Regions from separate parts of the Homo sapiens genome. Here all the other regions are linked to region 5. Evidence: promoter capture Hi-C in human tissues and cell types (Jung and others, 2019). All regions are on one chromosome and are shown on one strand. The core of a region is centred on a gene start or on the middle of the fragment in contact, and the rest is flanking DNA. Distances in the headings are between cores, read along the strand shown.

Region 1 (2,700 bases), core at 50-2,549, 110 kb before region 5:
CAGGTGAGGCAGAATCTAGACCCTCTGTCAGACACTAAAGATGCCATTATCATGGGTTGAAGTTCCACTTTTTTCTTTCTGTTTTAGAGAGGAGCTCTAAATTGGGAAGTAATGCAGGAAACAAGCCTTGTAAAAATCAACTTGGATTCACTTTTCAGTTACATCTGAGTGATCTACAGCTATTTCAAGCTGAAAGGAAAATTTCTGGGTGTAAGCATTTTGAAAAACCCGTCAGTGACAATTCCTCAGTTTCACCGCTTGAAAAAATTTCTTCCAGTGTCAAATCCCACCTTTTAAATAAATATAGAAATAATTTTGATCATGCTCCATTACTTCCACAAGAACAGAAAGCACACATTAGGGAAAAAGCTTATAAATGTAATGAGCACGGCCAAGTCTTTAGAGCATCTGCAAGCCTTACTAACCAAGTAATCCATAACGCAGATAATCCTTACAAATGCAGTGAATGTGGCAAGGTCTTTAGTTGCAGTTCAAAGCTTGTGATACATCGAAGAATGCATACTGGAGAGAAGCCTTACAAATGTCATGAATGTGGCAAGCTCTTCAGTAGCAATTCAAACCTTTCACAACATCAAAGAATTCATACTGGAGAGAAGCCTTACAAATGTCATGAATGTGACAAGGTCTTTCGAAGCAGTTCAAAGCTTGCACAACATCAAAGAATTCATACTGGAGAGAAGCCTTACAAATGTCATGAATGTGACAAGGTCTTCAATCAAATTGCACACCTTGTACGACATCAAAAAATTCATACTGGAGAGAAACCTTACAGTTGTAATAAATGTGGCAAGGTCTTTAGTCGCCATTCATATCTAGCAGAACATCAAACGGTTCATACTGGTGAGAAACCTTACAAATGTGAAGAATGTGGCAAAGCATTTTCAGTGCGTTCCAGCCTCATAACCCATCAGTTAATTCACACTGGAAGGAAACCTTACAAATGTAAAGAATGTGACAAGGTCTTTGGGCGCAAGTGTTTCCTGACCTCTCATCAGAGAATTCATACTAGAGAGAGACCTTATGGATGCAGTCAGTGTGGCAAGATCTTTAGTCAGAAATCAGACCTTATACGACATCGAAAAACTCATACTGATGAGAAGCCTTACAAATGTAATAAATGTGGCACAGCGTTTAGAGAGTTTTCAGACCTTACTGCCCATTTTCTAATCCATAGTGGAGAGAAACCTTATGAATGTAAAGAATGTGGCAAAGTCTTCAGGTACAAGTCTTCTCTAACCAGTCATCATAGAATTCATACTGGAGAGAAGCCTTACAAATGTAACAGATGTGGCAAGGTCTTCAGTCGCAGTTCAAACCTGGTATGCCATCAGAAAATTCATACAGGAGAAAAGCCTTACAAATGTAATCAATGTGGCAAGGTCTTTAATCAAGCATCATACCTTACAAGACATCAAATAATTCATACTGGAGAGAGGCCTTACAGATGTAGTAAATGTGGCAAAGCATTTCGAGGGTGTTCAGGCCTTACTGCCCATCTTGCAATCCATACTGAAAAGAAATCTCATGAGTGTAAAGAATGTGGCAAGATCTTCACTCAGAAGTCTTCCCTCACCAATCACCATAGAATTCACATTGGAGAGAAACCTTACAAATGCACCCTGTGCAGTAAGGTCTTCAGTCACAATTCTGACCTTGCACAGCATCAGAGAGTTCATTCATGAGAGTCCCTACAAACTGTATGGCAAAACCATCATCATGAGTTCTAGCATTAATCAACATCAGTGAGTCCATACTAAGTGGAAATCATATAAATGAAATGTATGTGACACAGGCTTTATCAAGGCCTGCCAAATCACTGGACATCACCACATCACTGTGGAGGATGAAAGCACACAGATGAATTGTGTGTACTTGGGCTATTATTCAAGGACCATTGCTATAGAACACGATAGGATTTACACAAGAAGTAACTCTGTCTCTGGTTCTCTGATACTAATCTATGATATTGCATGATGCAGAATAATGCTAAGTCAAAATATGTTGAATCTCATGACCTGATGTATATCAAAGGTGCAACGGCTTGTAAATGACCAGTTTTATTCAGGCTATAAAGCATTCAATTATTTGGGGCTTATAGAAAAGGCTACTTTACTCTTTGTGACTTCGAAATCTTTTCATGTGCCTTCCATACAGGCCATTCACTGTGGTCCCTGGGAAAGAATCAGTAGGATGACAGGGCTGACTTCATTAGCTGAGGATTATTTCTATCCAATTTCCTGATGAAGGACATTGCCTTTTGAGATTAAATATTGTCTGATTTAGAGAGCATGGAGGTGGGCAGAGTAACATAAAACTGATGACCGTCATCATACTGTTGCAGTTAGCACACTTTCTCCTGACATAAGTGCACAGAGCTTCAGTGTCCACCAACTGACCATGAAATAGAGTATGCTGTAATCTTAAGGCATAGGTTATTAGTGGGAAGAGAGTAATAGGTTGCTAGTGTCTGATTATATGGTAGAAATAATGCAAGGAAAAAGGTAGCCACCTTCTCCATTGAACAGCAGTACCTGCTGTTTAGCAAAGACTGATGAGAAGTAGACTTTTTTTTTTTTGGAGATAGAGTCTCACTCTGTTGCCCAGGCTGGAGTGTAGTGGTGTGTTCTTGGCTCACTGCACCCTCCGCCTCCTGGGCTCAAGCAGTCCTTCTGCCTTAGC
Region 2 (2,700 bases), core at 198-2,697, 74 kb before region 5:
AAAAGCATTTCTTTGTGTTTGGATCACAAAGAAACTTTGTTTTTCTGCAGTTGATGGTTATTTGTAAATCTACTTTGTGGTGACCTGATGTAAACAGTGTCTTCTTAAATGTACATCAATTACAGATTAAAAAAAAAATCCTGTATTATTTAACTCAAGAAATGATACCCCTTCAGCAACTTAAAAAAAAAAGTTTGTTTTTGTTTTGTGCGTGTGTGTGTTTTCTTTTTTTTGTTTTGTTTTTTTGGAGACGGAATTTCACTCTTGTTGCCCAGGCTGGATGGCAATGGCCCGATCTCTGCTCACCGCACCTTCCAACTCCTGGGTTCAAGCAATTCTCCTGCCTCAGCCTCCCGAGTAACTGGGATTACAGGCATGCGCCACCACGCCCGGCTAATTTTGTATTTTTAGAAGACACAGGATTTCTCCATGTTGGTCAGGCTGGTCTCCAACTCCCAACCTCAGGTGATCCGCCCGCCTCGGCCTCGCAAAGTGCTGGGATTACAGGCGTGAGCCAACGTGCCTGGCCCTGTGTGTTTTATAAGAGAGACTGGGACTCACTCTGTTGCCCAGGCTAGTCTTGAACATTTAGCCTCAAGTGATCCTCCCATCTCAGCCTCCCAAAGTGCTAGGATTAGAAACATGAGCCAACACACCCAGCCAAAAATCGTCTTTTCTATTTACATTCAGAGTGCGTGTAAATTTGAAATTCACTCTACGTATCGAAATTATTGACATTATGATGTCAATAAAGTTTATCGCAGAGACGTTTGAGGTTAATTCATCTGAAGTTTGGAATAGAGTAACAGGTATAAGGGAGAGCTATTTATATCTATTGTTTAAAAGTTTAAGAGTCATTTATATCTATCATCTAAAAGTTTTAGCTTTCCTTTTTAAAAGCAACATTTGGTGACCTAACTTATCCCTGGCGTTAACCCTCCATGCCCAAGGCGTTGTCCCTGGGAAATTGTCAGGAGCTGAGCACAGGGTTGATCCTCACCCTCCAGAGTGTAGGGGGAATAGAAAAGGAGAGGATTTCTACTCTGTTCTGTGGGACGACAGCATCAAATTGCATGTTCCGCCCAGGCAGGGCTTTGCATTTCATATTCTAGTTCGCTTCCTCTCCCAGACAATTCCAGGGCTTTTAAATTAAAATACTAAAATTAACTTTAATTGCAGGAACTATCTTAGGTCCAATCACTGTCCCCTACTTTGACCCTCTCATAGAGATCCCAGGTCCCAGACTGCTTGGCTGCTGGTCACCGATAGGGTCTTTCCTCAAAAACCTGGAGAACAGACGCGCCCAGAGACAGGCCGAAGGCAGCGCAGACCCCGCCCCTCACCGCCCCACCCTCTCTTCTCTCGGGTCTCGCCCATCCCTGGCCTCAGCTGCGCGCGGTTTCCTGGAAACCCGGAAGTGAATCATGGGGCGTGAACTCGCAAGCGCAGTTTCCTGAAGACCCGGAAGCCGATCGCGTGGGGAGCCGGTCTTGGAGCAGCGGGTGAGTTTCCCTTTGTCTAGATTAGATCCGCTTCCAGCGCTTCTGTACCTGGTGTTGGCGGAGGGGTTCTTACGGATCTTAAAATCCTCCCGCCGTTCCCTCCATCCTAGGTATATTAATACGTCGCCAAGAAATTCGGAGGTTAAAATCGCTTGGAGGCTGCTGGTCCTTTCCCTGAGCTCTCTGCCTTCGGGCCACGTAGACGCTTTTCGTCCCGTTTACCTGCTTAAAACCCTTTACTGACCACTCCTTCGGTCCCGCGTCATGTAAAAGCCCTCACCCATGAGGTGTATTCACGCCCAGTGGGTCCTCCAAGCCTCGCCCTTCTGGCCTCTTGGAGCTCGGTCCCGCAGTCTCGATGCATCAGCGCCGTGTCCTCTGCCCGGCCCTGGGATTTTGGAAACCCCACCCCTCTCCTAATCCACCCCCAACCTTGTCCTCCTTGGGCTGGGCCCTTGTGTTCCCCAGGTTTCCCCTTCACAACCCACATTCCTTACCCCGCATTGAGGGAGGTGACGGGGCCTGGCTTTTGACACTCAGTGTTTTTCCGTTCCAAATTGCACCCGCTGGAAAATGTGCTCTTCCAGAGGAAAAACGATTGATTTATTCTTTCCTCCTCTGAAACTCAACACGGTAGTAAACACTGAACCCAGAATACTTCACTTGTGGTCACCGAATGTGTGGGGATTTCTCCCCACTAACAAGCAGTTCTCTATCAGACATCAACTCGGTGTCCCATAATTTACCTCACTTCTGACAGCTGTACCTGGTGTAAGCATCGGATCCCACAGATTAAAGGCTCAGTCCACAAGACTTCTCCACTTCAGATGTCGGTTACAAGTCCCAGATTGGAACCTGAACTTCTAAGCTACTGGATATAAATTGAGGATTCCCATGACCCAGTCTTCAGTATTTATTAATTTGCCAGAGTAGCTCACAGAACTCAGAAACGTTTTAGTTGGGTTTACTCATTTGTTTTAAAGGATATTACAAAGGTTGCAGATAGACAGATGGAATAGCAGTTCTAGAAAATTAGTTGAATGCAGGAGAGGATTTGGGAACCGTGGTGTTTATCTGGTCAGTCAGAAGTAGAGGTGAAAACTACTACTTGTGTACAGCTTCTAAGGTGAAGGGTAGTCTTGTGGGACTGAGCTTTTCACCCATGGGATCTGACACTATCTCCTTGTAGATAGTGTAA
Region 3 (2,700 bases), core at 1-2,500, 92 kb before region 5:
GATTTCCTTTTAGGGGCAATTGTCATTCAGCGATGTGGCCATAGAATTCTCTCAGGAGGAGTGGAAATGCCTGGACCCTGGGCAGAAAGCTTTATACAGGGACGTGATGTTAGAGAACTACAGGAACCTGGTCTCCCTAGGTGAGGATAATGTCCGTCCAGAAGCCTGCATCTGCTCTGGTATATCTTTTTGCATTTTCTCTTGTGTGTCTCTCGGGAGCCCCTGCATTGCTTGACTGAGATTGAAACCTGTTGACTAAGAAATGAAAAGCAGGCCAGGCGCAGTGGCTCACGCCTGTAATCCCAGCACTTTGGGAGGCCGAGGCAAATGGTTCACGAGGTCAGGAGATCGAGACCACGGTGAAACCCCATCTCTACTAAAGATACAAAAAAGGGTGCCTGTAGTCCCAGCTACTCGGGAGGCTGAGACAGGAGAATGGCGTGAACCCGGGAGGCGGAGCTTGCAGTGAGCCAAGATCGCACCACTGCACTCCAGCCTGGGTGACAGATCAAGACTCCGTCTCAAAAAAAAAAAAAAAAAAAAAAGAAATGAAAAGCATTATGCTTTCTGAACTTGAAATGTCCCCTTACACCAGCCTGACCAACCTGGTGAAACCCCATCCATACTAAAAATACAAAGATTAGTTAGGCATGGTGGTACATGCCTGTAGTCCCAGCTACTCGGGAGACTGAGGCAGGAGAATCACTTGAACCTGGGAGGCAGGGGCTGCAGTGAGCTGAGATCATGCCACTGCACTCAAGCCTGGGCAACAGAGTGAGACTCTGTCTCAAAAAAAAAAAAAAAGAAAGAAATGTCCCCTTTCTTCAGATATTCTGCTTCCTTCATGATTCATCATTGATGGCACCAGGGCTGAAGTGTGCATGAAACCTTATGACAGACTTAAAAAATATCCAGTTCCCTGTTTTCTACCCATGTGCTTTTGATTCAGTAGTTCTTGAAAGGGGGCTTGACGTCTACATGTTACAATGTTCCCTTAGCATTCAGAAGGATGCAATCAGTGGTTGAATTTGTGAAATATTATTCTTGATTAATTTGTAATATGCTGTCTCCTACCTAAATATAGGGCTTGGACTTTGGAGATGCCACAGCACACATTTATTCTTTCTTTTTGTAAGTAGGAATCTGTCTTCCTGACCTGAGTGTTACCTCCATGTTGGAGCAAAAGAGAGATCCCTGGACTCTGCAGAGTGAAGTGAAAATAATAAACAATCCAGATGGCAGGGAGTGCATCAAAGGTGTGAACACAGGTGAGAGCTCAGGTGGGCAGAGTGGAGGCCCCATAATTTTTGTATTTTGAGAAGGGTCTCACTCTGTCATCCAGGCTGGAGTACAGTGGCAATCATAGCTCACAGCAGCCTTAAACTCCTGGACTTAAGGGATCCTTCTGGCTTGGTCTTCCAAAGTGTTGGGATTACAGGCTTGAGCCACTATACTCTGCAGAGCCACACTATTACATAGTGTTTGGGAAACTCTGCAAGTGGGTGAATTCTGTGGGAAAACCAAAGCTGAAATCCTTTGAGTTGTGAACAGACATTTTTCATTTTCTTTTTTCTGTTTTGAGATAGCGTCTCTCTCCTGTCACCCAGGCTGGAGTGCAGTGGCATGATTATGGCTGGCTGCAGCCTCACCTTCTGGGGCTCACGTGATTCTCCCACCTCAGCCTTCTGAATAGCTGGGACTCTGTGTGTACACCACCATGCCTATCTAGTTTTTTGTATTTTTAGTAGAGATGGAGTATTGCCATATTACCCAGGCTGTACTTGAACTCCTGACCTCAAGTGATCCACCCACCTCAGCCTCCCAAAGTGCTGGGATTACAGGCATGAGCCACTGTGCCCAGCCTCACATAATGATTTTTGAGTTCTAATTAACTTTCTCAGTTCTTCTTTATCTAGGAAAGCCTGAATTATTTTTGTAGATGAGTTTTACTAAATATAGTATTCTTCATTGATGTTTTTCTTATTTTTCTTCTTCTTCTTTTTTTTTTTTTTTTTGAGACCGTCTCACTCTGTCACCCAGGCTGGAGTACAGTGGCATGATCTTGGCTCACTGCAAGCTCTGCCTCCTGGGTTCACGCCATTCTTCTGCTTCAACCTCCCAAGTAGCTGGGACTACAGGCTCCCGCCACCATGCCTGGCTAATTTTTTTTGTATTTTTAGTAGAGACGGGGTTTCACCGTGTTAGCCAGGATGTTCTCAATCTCCTGACCTCATGATCCACACACCTCAGCCTCCCAAAGTTCTGGGATTACAAGCATGAGTCACCGTGCCCGGCCCTTATTTTTCTTTAAGCACTTTCAGTATCACTTCACTGCCTTCTACCCTGAAGATACCTGCTGGAAAAATACACATAGACTTATACAGTTTCCTATTATATGTCAAGTCTCTTTTTTTGTTGATGCTATCAAACTTTGTCTCTGTCTCTCTTTGACTTTTGATAATTTCCTTATATTATGTCCCTGTGTGAATGTCTTTGGGCTAATTTTAGTAATGGTCAAGCTTCTTGAATTTGTATATTCAGTTCTTTCCTCAGATGTGTGATGTTTTAACATTATTTCTTCAGTTGTGGCTTTTCATCCTTTGTCATCTTCATATGAACCTCCAATAGTTTGTATATTGTTCCACCTTATAGTCTCTCAAAAATGTATTAGGGTTTGTAAGGTTTTCTTCATCATGTTTT
Region 4 (2,700 bases), core at 191-2,690, 130 kb after region 5:
GCCACATTTACTACACTTGTAAGATCTCTCTTCATTATGGATTCTCTAATGATTTGCAATGCTTGTAGCATTACTGAGGACTTTGTGAGAATCATTACATTTGTAAAGTTTCCCTATACCATGGATTGCTTGATGATGAATAAGTGATGACTGCCCACTAAAGGCTTTGCCACACTCATTGCACTTATAAGGATTTTCTCCAGTATGAAGTCTATGATGGCATACAAAGGATGACATATGACTGAAGGTCTTGCCACACTCATTGCACTTGTAAGGTTTCTCTCCACTATGAAGTCTATAATGGTATACAAAGGATGACATATGACTGAAGGTCTTGCCACACTCATTACACCTGTAAGGTTTCTCTCCAGTATGAACTCTCTGATGTTGTGCAAGGTTTGACTGTTGATTAAAAACCTTGCCACATTCATTACACTTGTAAGGTTTCTCTCCAGTATGAATTGCCTTATGAATTAGAAGGGATGAATTTCGAGCAAAGGTCTTGCCACACTCATGACAGTTGTAAGGTTTTTCTCCGGTATGAAGTCTACGATGGCCCACAAGGGATGACTTCTGACTGAAGGTCTTGCCACACTCATTACACTTGTAAGGTTTCTCTCCAGTATGAAGCCTATAATGACATGCAAGGTGTGCTTTTTGATTAAAAACCTTACCACATTCATTACATGTGTAAGGTTTCTCTCCAGTATGAACTCTCTGATGTTGTGCAAGGTATGAATCACGCTGGAAAACCTTGCCACATTCATTACATGTGTAAGGTTTCTCTTCAGTATGAACTCTGTTATGGCGTGAAAGGCATGAATTATGCCTAAAAGCTTTGTCACAAACCTTACATTTGTATGGTTTCTCTCCAGTATGAATTCGCCTATGTGTTTCAAGTTGTGATCTGCAACTGTAAACTTTGTCACATCCTTCACATTTGTAAGGTTTCTCTCCAGTATGACGTCTACGATGCCCTACAAGGGATGACGTCTGACTGAAGGTCTTACCACACTCATTACACTTGTAAGGTTTTTCTCCAGTATGAAGTCTATGATGGCGTGTAAGAGATGACTTGTGACCGAAGGTCTTGGAACACTCATTACACTTGTAAGGTTTTTCTCCAGTATGAACTCTATGGTGCCATGCAAGGTATTGCTTTTGATGAAACACTTTGCCACATACATCACATTTATATTGTTTCTCTCCTGAATGGGTTACATGATGTCTTCTTAAATGTGAGCTATAATTAAAGGCTTTGCCACACTCATTACATTGGAAAGGTTTTTCTCTCATGTGTTCTTCCTGGATTTGTGTCAATAATGAAGAATGGAGAAAGTTCTTCCCATACCTATTAGAAATATGGGTTTTGAGCCTACAAGAAATTCTTTGGGATGTTGAAACCAAGGAAGCATTGTTGATAGACTTCTCCACTTGATTATCAATTTTCCCTTCAGTCTGAAATTCGTGCAGTTCAGGCAGATGTGAATAAAAGCTTGATCCAAGCTGATCTTTAATAGGCTTGTTTCCAGCATGCCTTTGATCACGTCGGTCTGTACTACCAGTCAACTTTTTGATTTTTGTCATGGGTGCTTCATGGCCATTTCTTTTAATTTCTTGCCACTGAAACTCAAAGTCATGAATATCTTTCTTGATTTCTGGGAAGCAAAAATCTCCAATGTGATGACTTTTATGTCTTTGCAATGTCCCTGTGTGGATCACTTCTCCTGTATTACCGTGCCCTGTTGATGAGAACTCCGTCATGGATTTTAAAGAGCTATCTAAAAAATATAAAGACCAATAGGTTTCCAATTAAGTACAGATGGTAAATAATATTTAATACTGAAATGTGTTAATATTACACAAAAAGCAATACTTATTTTAAAATTCCCAAATATGATCTTCAAAGTTTAAGAACACCCTGTCTCTATTAAAAATACAAAAATTAGCCAGGCATGGTGGTGGATGCCTGTAATCCCAGCTACTCAGGACGCTGAGGCAGGAGAATTTCTTGAACCTAGGAGGCAGAGATTGCAGTGAACAGAGATCACATCATTGCACTCCAGCCTGGGCAACAAGAGCAAAATTCCATGTCAAACAGAGTTCAGTCAAGAGCCTCATATATATGATGCAGTAAGCCTGAATGATGTCCTCCCTAAGAGGAATTTCTACAGCAGTGACTGCTGTTTAGAGAACATGATCATTAGTTTATGTGATGATCACTGTCACAGTACCAGTGAGAGATGCTTCTGTGATGCTCCTTAAAAACCAGAACAAAAGGCCAAGGGTGGTGGCTCAGGTTTGTAATCCCAACACTTGGCTAGAGGCTGAGGTGGGCAGATTGCTTGAGACAAGGAGTTTGAGACCAGCCTGGCCAACATGGTGATTCCCCATCTCTAATAAAAATACAAAAATTAGCAAGGCATGGTGACTTGCATCTGTAATTCCAGTTAGGTTGGGAGGCTGAGGTATGAGAATTGCTTGAATGCAGGAGGCGGAGGTTGCAATGAGCTGAGATCACAACAGTGCACTCCAGCCTGAGCAAGAGAGGGAGACTCTGTCTCAAAAAACAAAACAAAACAAAAGCAGAATCACAGCTGGAAACACTTGTCAGTCACTGTCATGCTTTCTAGCTCATCTCCTGGGCCACCCTGACAATTCTGCTCAGGGCTACCAGGGGCATCTCTGCTTAGAGCAGGA
Region 5 (2,700 bases), core at 10-2,509:
AAAATTAACCGGGCATCGTGGCACGCGCCTGTAATGCCAGCTGCTCCCGAGGCTGAGGCAGGAGAATCGCTTGAACCCAGGAGGCAGAGGCTGCATTGAGTTGAGATCTCGCCACTGCACTCCAGCCTGGGCAACAGAAATACTGTGTCTCAATAATAGTAATAATAATAATAATAATAATAAAGTAATAGATCTCTTCCACAAATGTGCTGGGACAACTAACTGGATATCCACATGGAAAAGAGTAATGTTGGATCCCTATGTCACACCATCAAAAATTTTATTTAAAAAAGTTTTTTTTTTTTTTTTAAAAAGGGAAAAGGCCCGGGCGCGGTGGCTCACGCCTGTAATCCCAGCACTTTGGGAGGCCGACGTGGGCGGATCACCTGAGGTCGGGAGTTCAGCCTGGCTAACATGGTGAAACCCTGTCTCTACTAAATATACAAAATTAACTGGGCATGGTGGCGCATGCCTGTAGTCCCAGCTACTCGGGAGGCTGAGGCCGGAGTATCGCTTGAAACCAGGAGGCGGAAGTTCTAGTGAGCTGGGATCACTCCACGGCACTCCAGCCTGGGCGACGGAGTGAGACTCTGTCTCCAAAAAAAAAAAAAGGGAAAGAGAGAGAGAGAGACTAGGAAGGGAGACCTGCCGCAGTGGGTGTTACTTTGTCGCCCAGGCTGGCTTGGGACCCCAGGCTCAGCAATTCTCTCCGTTGCTTCCTGAGTAGCTGGGACCTGAGGCTCCCGCCCCCGCGCCTCTGCTGTGTTTAAGCAGCAGGTGGTGACCTCACTCCTTCCTGGCCTAAGCACTCCGTCCCGCACCCCTGGCGGTGGCTTTAAGGAAGTCTCTGAAGCTGAGCTCAGGGTGGACTCTCCCTCCCTAGTGAATGGAGATAGAAAGGGAGAGGACATCTATTCTGTTCCGTGGGCCGTCACCATGACATCGTACATGCCGCCCAGGCAGGGCTTTGCATTTCACATTCTAGTTTGCATCCCGGTTCCAGACAATTCCAGGGCTTTGGAATCATGCCTCAGACTTTCTGGCGCTCTCGCCTCCACAACCTAAAAACAGAGACGCTAGGAGAGAGGCTGAAAGACGCGCAAGTCCCGCCCCGGCCCCGCCCCGGCCCCGCCCTCTGCCGGTTCTAAAGGGCAAGGTCTCAGCGCCTCGCGCCCCGCCGCTACCTCGCCCAGGCCCCGCCCACCTCCTCCCACCTCCCGCCCAGGCCTGGCTTCCGTCCTGCGCGCGGAGATTAACGCAAACCCGGAAGCGGATCGGGTGGAGTGAAGGTCACGTCGCCATGGTGAGTTTTGCTCTGTGTTGCATTAAGTCTCCGCTTCCCAGGTCCCCGCCGCTTCTGTCCCTGGGACGTGGGGTCCCCACAGACCTGGAAATTCTCGCCCGTCTTCCTTCGCCCAGAGCAAATTGAGACAGCCCAGTGAGAGGCCGGGTGTCGCTTCCTTTCGGGTTTAAAGTCGTCTGGAGGCTGGTCCCGTCCCGGGTCTGTCTGCTATAGGGCAATGTATACACTTTCTATTGCGTAGTTTTTCTGCTCAAAACCTTCTTCTGACTCTTCCCTCCTCGCGCTATTTAAAGTCTTCACCCACGAGGTGGATTCTTGCCCGGGGCGCACCTCCCAGCCACCCCTCGTCGGCCCCTGGAGCGTCGCGCCGCAGCCCCAGTCCCAGGGAGGCCGCGTCCTCTGCCTGGTCCTGGGATCTTGCAGACCCCATCCTTCTCCCAAGGCGCCGTCCCCCCTCCTCCCACCTCCCTACTCGTGCCAGAGCCTGCGGCTCCCCAGGTCTCTCCTCCGCAGTCACCGCTTCCATTGAACCCACACTGGGAAGGACGCAGGGCCCTGTCCTGTGACATGGGGTCTTCTTGCCTGCCGAGCTCCAGCCCTTGGAAAACGCGCTCCTCCGGGATGCAGGCGTCTTACTCCAAACCCTCCTGCGATTGTGTGGGCCGAAGGGATCAGGAGACAGACAGCAGTAGAAAACCTGAGACAGAGAAAGAATAAGAAAGGCCCATAACAGATGGCAAAATAGAGGATTGGTGAGGGATATGCCAAGATATGGTGAAAGTGGAAAAAGAAAGCAACAAAATACCTAGAAAAGCAGGTGGAGAAAAGCAACTGGAGAAATGTAGAGAAAAGCTAGATGTACACAGAGATGAAGGACGGCAAGGTAGGGAGAGTGGCAGCAAAGAGGGAGGCTCATCAGAGTGAGGGAGAGAGGGAGGGATTTGGAGCCAGGGCAGACAGAGCAGAGTGGTGCTGGTGTCAAGGAGAACCGAGGGAGAAACACAGCAGGGAGGACACCTGGGGATCTGGGGTGACACAGAGTGGGGACAGGGGAGTATATCAGGGAAGAGAGAATTTAACAGGGAGAGCAGAGGAGGCGCAGAGATGGGTGAAGAGGCAGAAATAGATGGAGATTGAGGACGATTGAAAGATTGGGGAGAAGGAGCAATAAGAGGTTAAATAAGTTGCGAGGATGGAGCAGAAGAGATGGAAGAGAAGGAATAGAGGGAAGAAGGGGGATAAACAGCAGAAGAGAAGAGGGGTACAAAATGAAGAGCAGAATCCCAGGGAGAAAGAAAAGAAAACAAGAGCTAGAGAGAGAAGGGGGAGAATGAGAGATATGTACAGAATTAGGGAGGGAAGCGCAGTAATGAAGAAAGGGGGGCTAGGCACAGTGG

What was found. The method cuts DNA at HindIII sites, captures the fragments that hold promoters and counts their contacts. A contact is called where the count stands out against the background at its distance.
Region 1: a contact is called between a fragment that was not itself captured here and the fragment with the promoter of ZNF808 in region 5, in 2 of the 25 tissues and cell types used here (adrenal gland and mesenchymal stem cells).
Region 2: the fragment with the promoter of ZNF578 here is called in contact with the fragment with the promoter of ZNF808 in region 5 in 1 of the 25 tissues and cell types used here (stomach).
Region 3: a fragment that was not itself captured here is called in contact with the fragment with the promoter of ZNF808 in region 5 in 2 of the 25 tissues and cell types used here (adrenal gland and pancreas).
Region 4: a contact is called between a fragment that was not itself captured here and the fragment with the promoter of ZNF808 in region 5, in 3 of the 25 tissues and cell types used here (IMR-90 fibroblasts, aorta and mesenchymal stem cells).

The regions. Positions count from the first base shown.
Region 1 is chr19:52,415,037-52,417,736 of GRCh38, forward strand. ZNF528 (zinc finger protein 528) reads left to right here. Exons shown (of 7, transcript NM_032423.3): 7 at 88-2,700. The coding sequence ends at 1,703. Among named protein-coding and RNA genes, the nearest start is that of ZNF534, 13 kb to the right of the region's middle. The HindIII fragment of the contact is 3,304 bases long and covers 1-2,700 here.
Region 2 is chr19:52,452,106-52,454,805 of GRCh38, forward strand. It overlaps ZNF578 (zinc finger protein 578), which reads left to right and starts at 1,448. Exons shown (of 6, transcript NM_001099694.2): 1 at 1,448-1,502. It also overlaps a transcript of ZNF534 not described here and the pseudogene LOC441862. RefSeq lists an enhancer at 890-2,089. The HindIII fragment of the contact is 17,654 bases long and covers 1-2,700 here.
Region 3 is chr19:52,433,942-52,436,641 of GRCh38, forward strand. It overlaps ZNF534 (zinc finger protein 534), which reads left to right. Exons shown (of 5, transcript NM_001143938.3): 3 at 14-140; 4 at 1,140-1,268. Among named protein-coding and RNA genes, the nearest start is that of ZNF534, 6.1 kb to the left of the region's middle. The HindIII fragment of the contact is 3,304 bases long and covers 1-2,700 here.
Region 4 is chr19:52,652,623-52,655,322 of GRCh38, forward strand. It overlaps LOC122539214 (Zinc finger protein LOC122539214), which reads right to left. Exons shown (of 4, transcript NM_001396016.1): 4 at 1-1,781. The coding sequence ends at 46. It also overlaps a transcript of ZNF83 not described here. Among named protein-coding and RNA genes, the nearest start is that of ZNF83, 16 kb to the left of the region's middle. The HindIII fragment of the contact is 5,670 bases long and covers 1-2,700 here.
Region 5 is chr19:52,526,409-52,529,108 of GRCh38, forward strand. It overlaps ZNF808 (zinc finger protein 808), which reads left to right and starts at 1,260. Exons shown (of 5, transcript NM_001039886.4): 1 at 1,260-1,303. RefSeq lists enhancers at 1-705, 706-1,533. The HindIII fragment of the contact is 14,459 bases long and covers 1-2,700 here.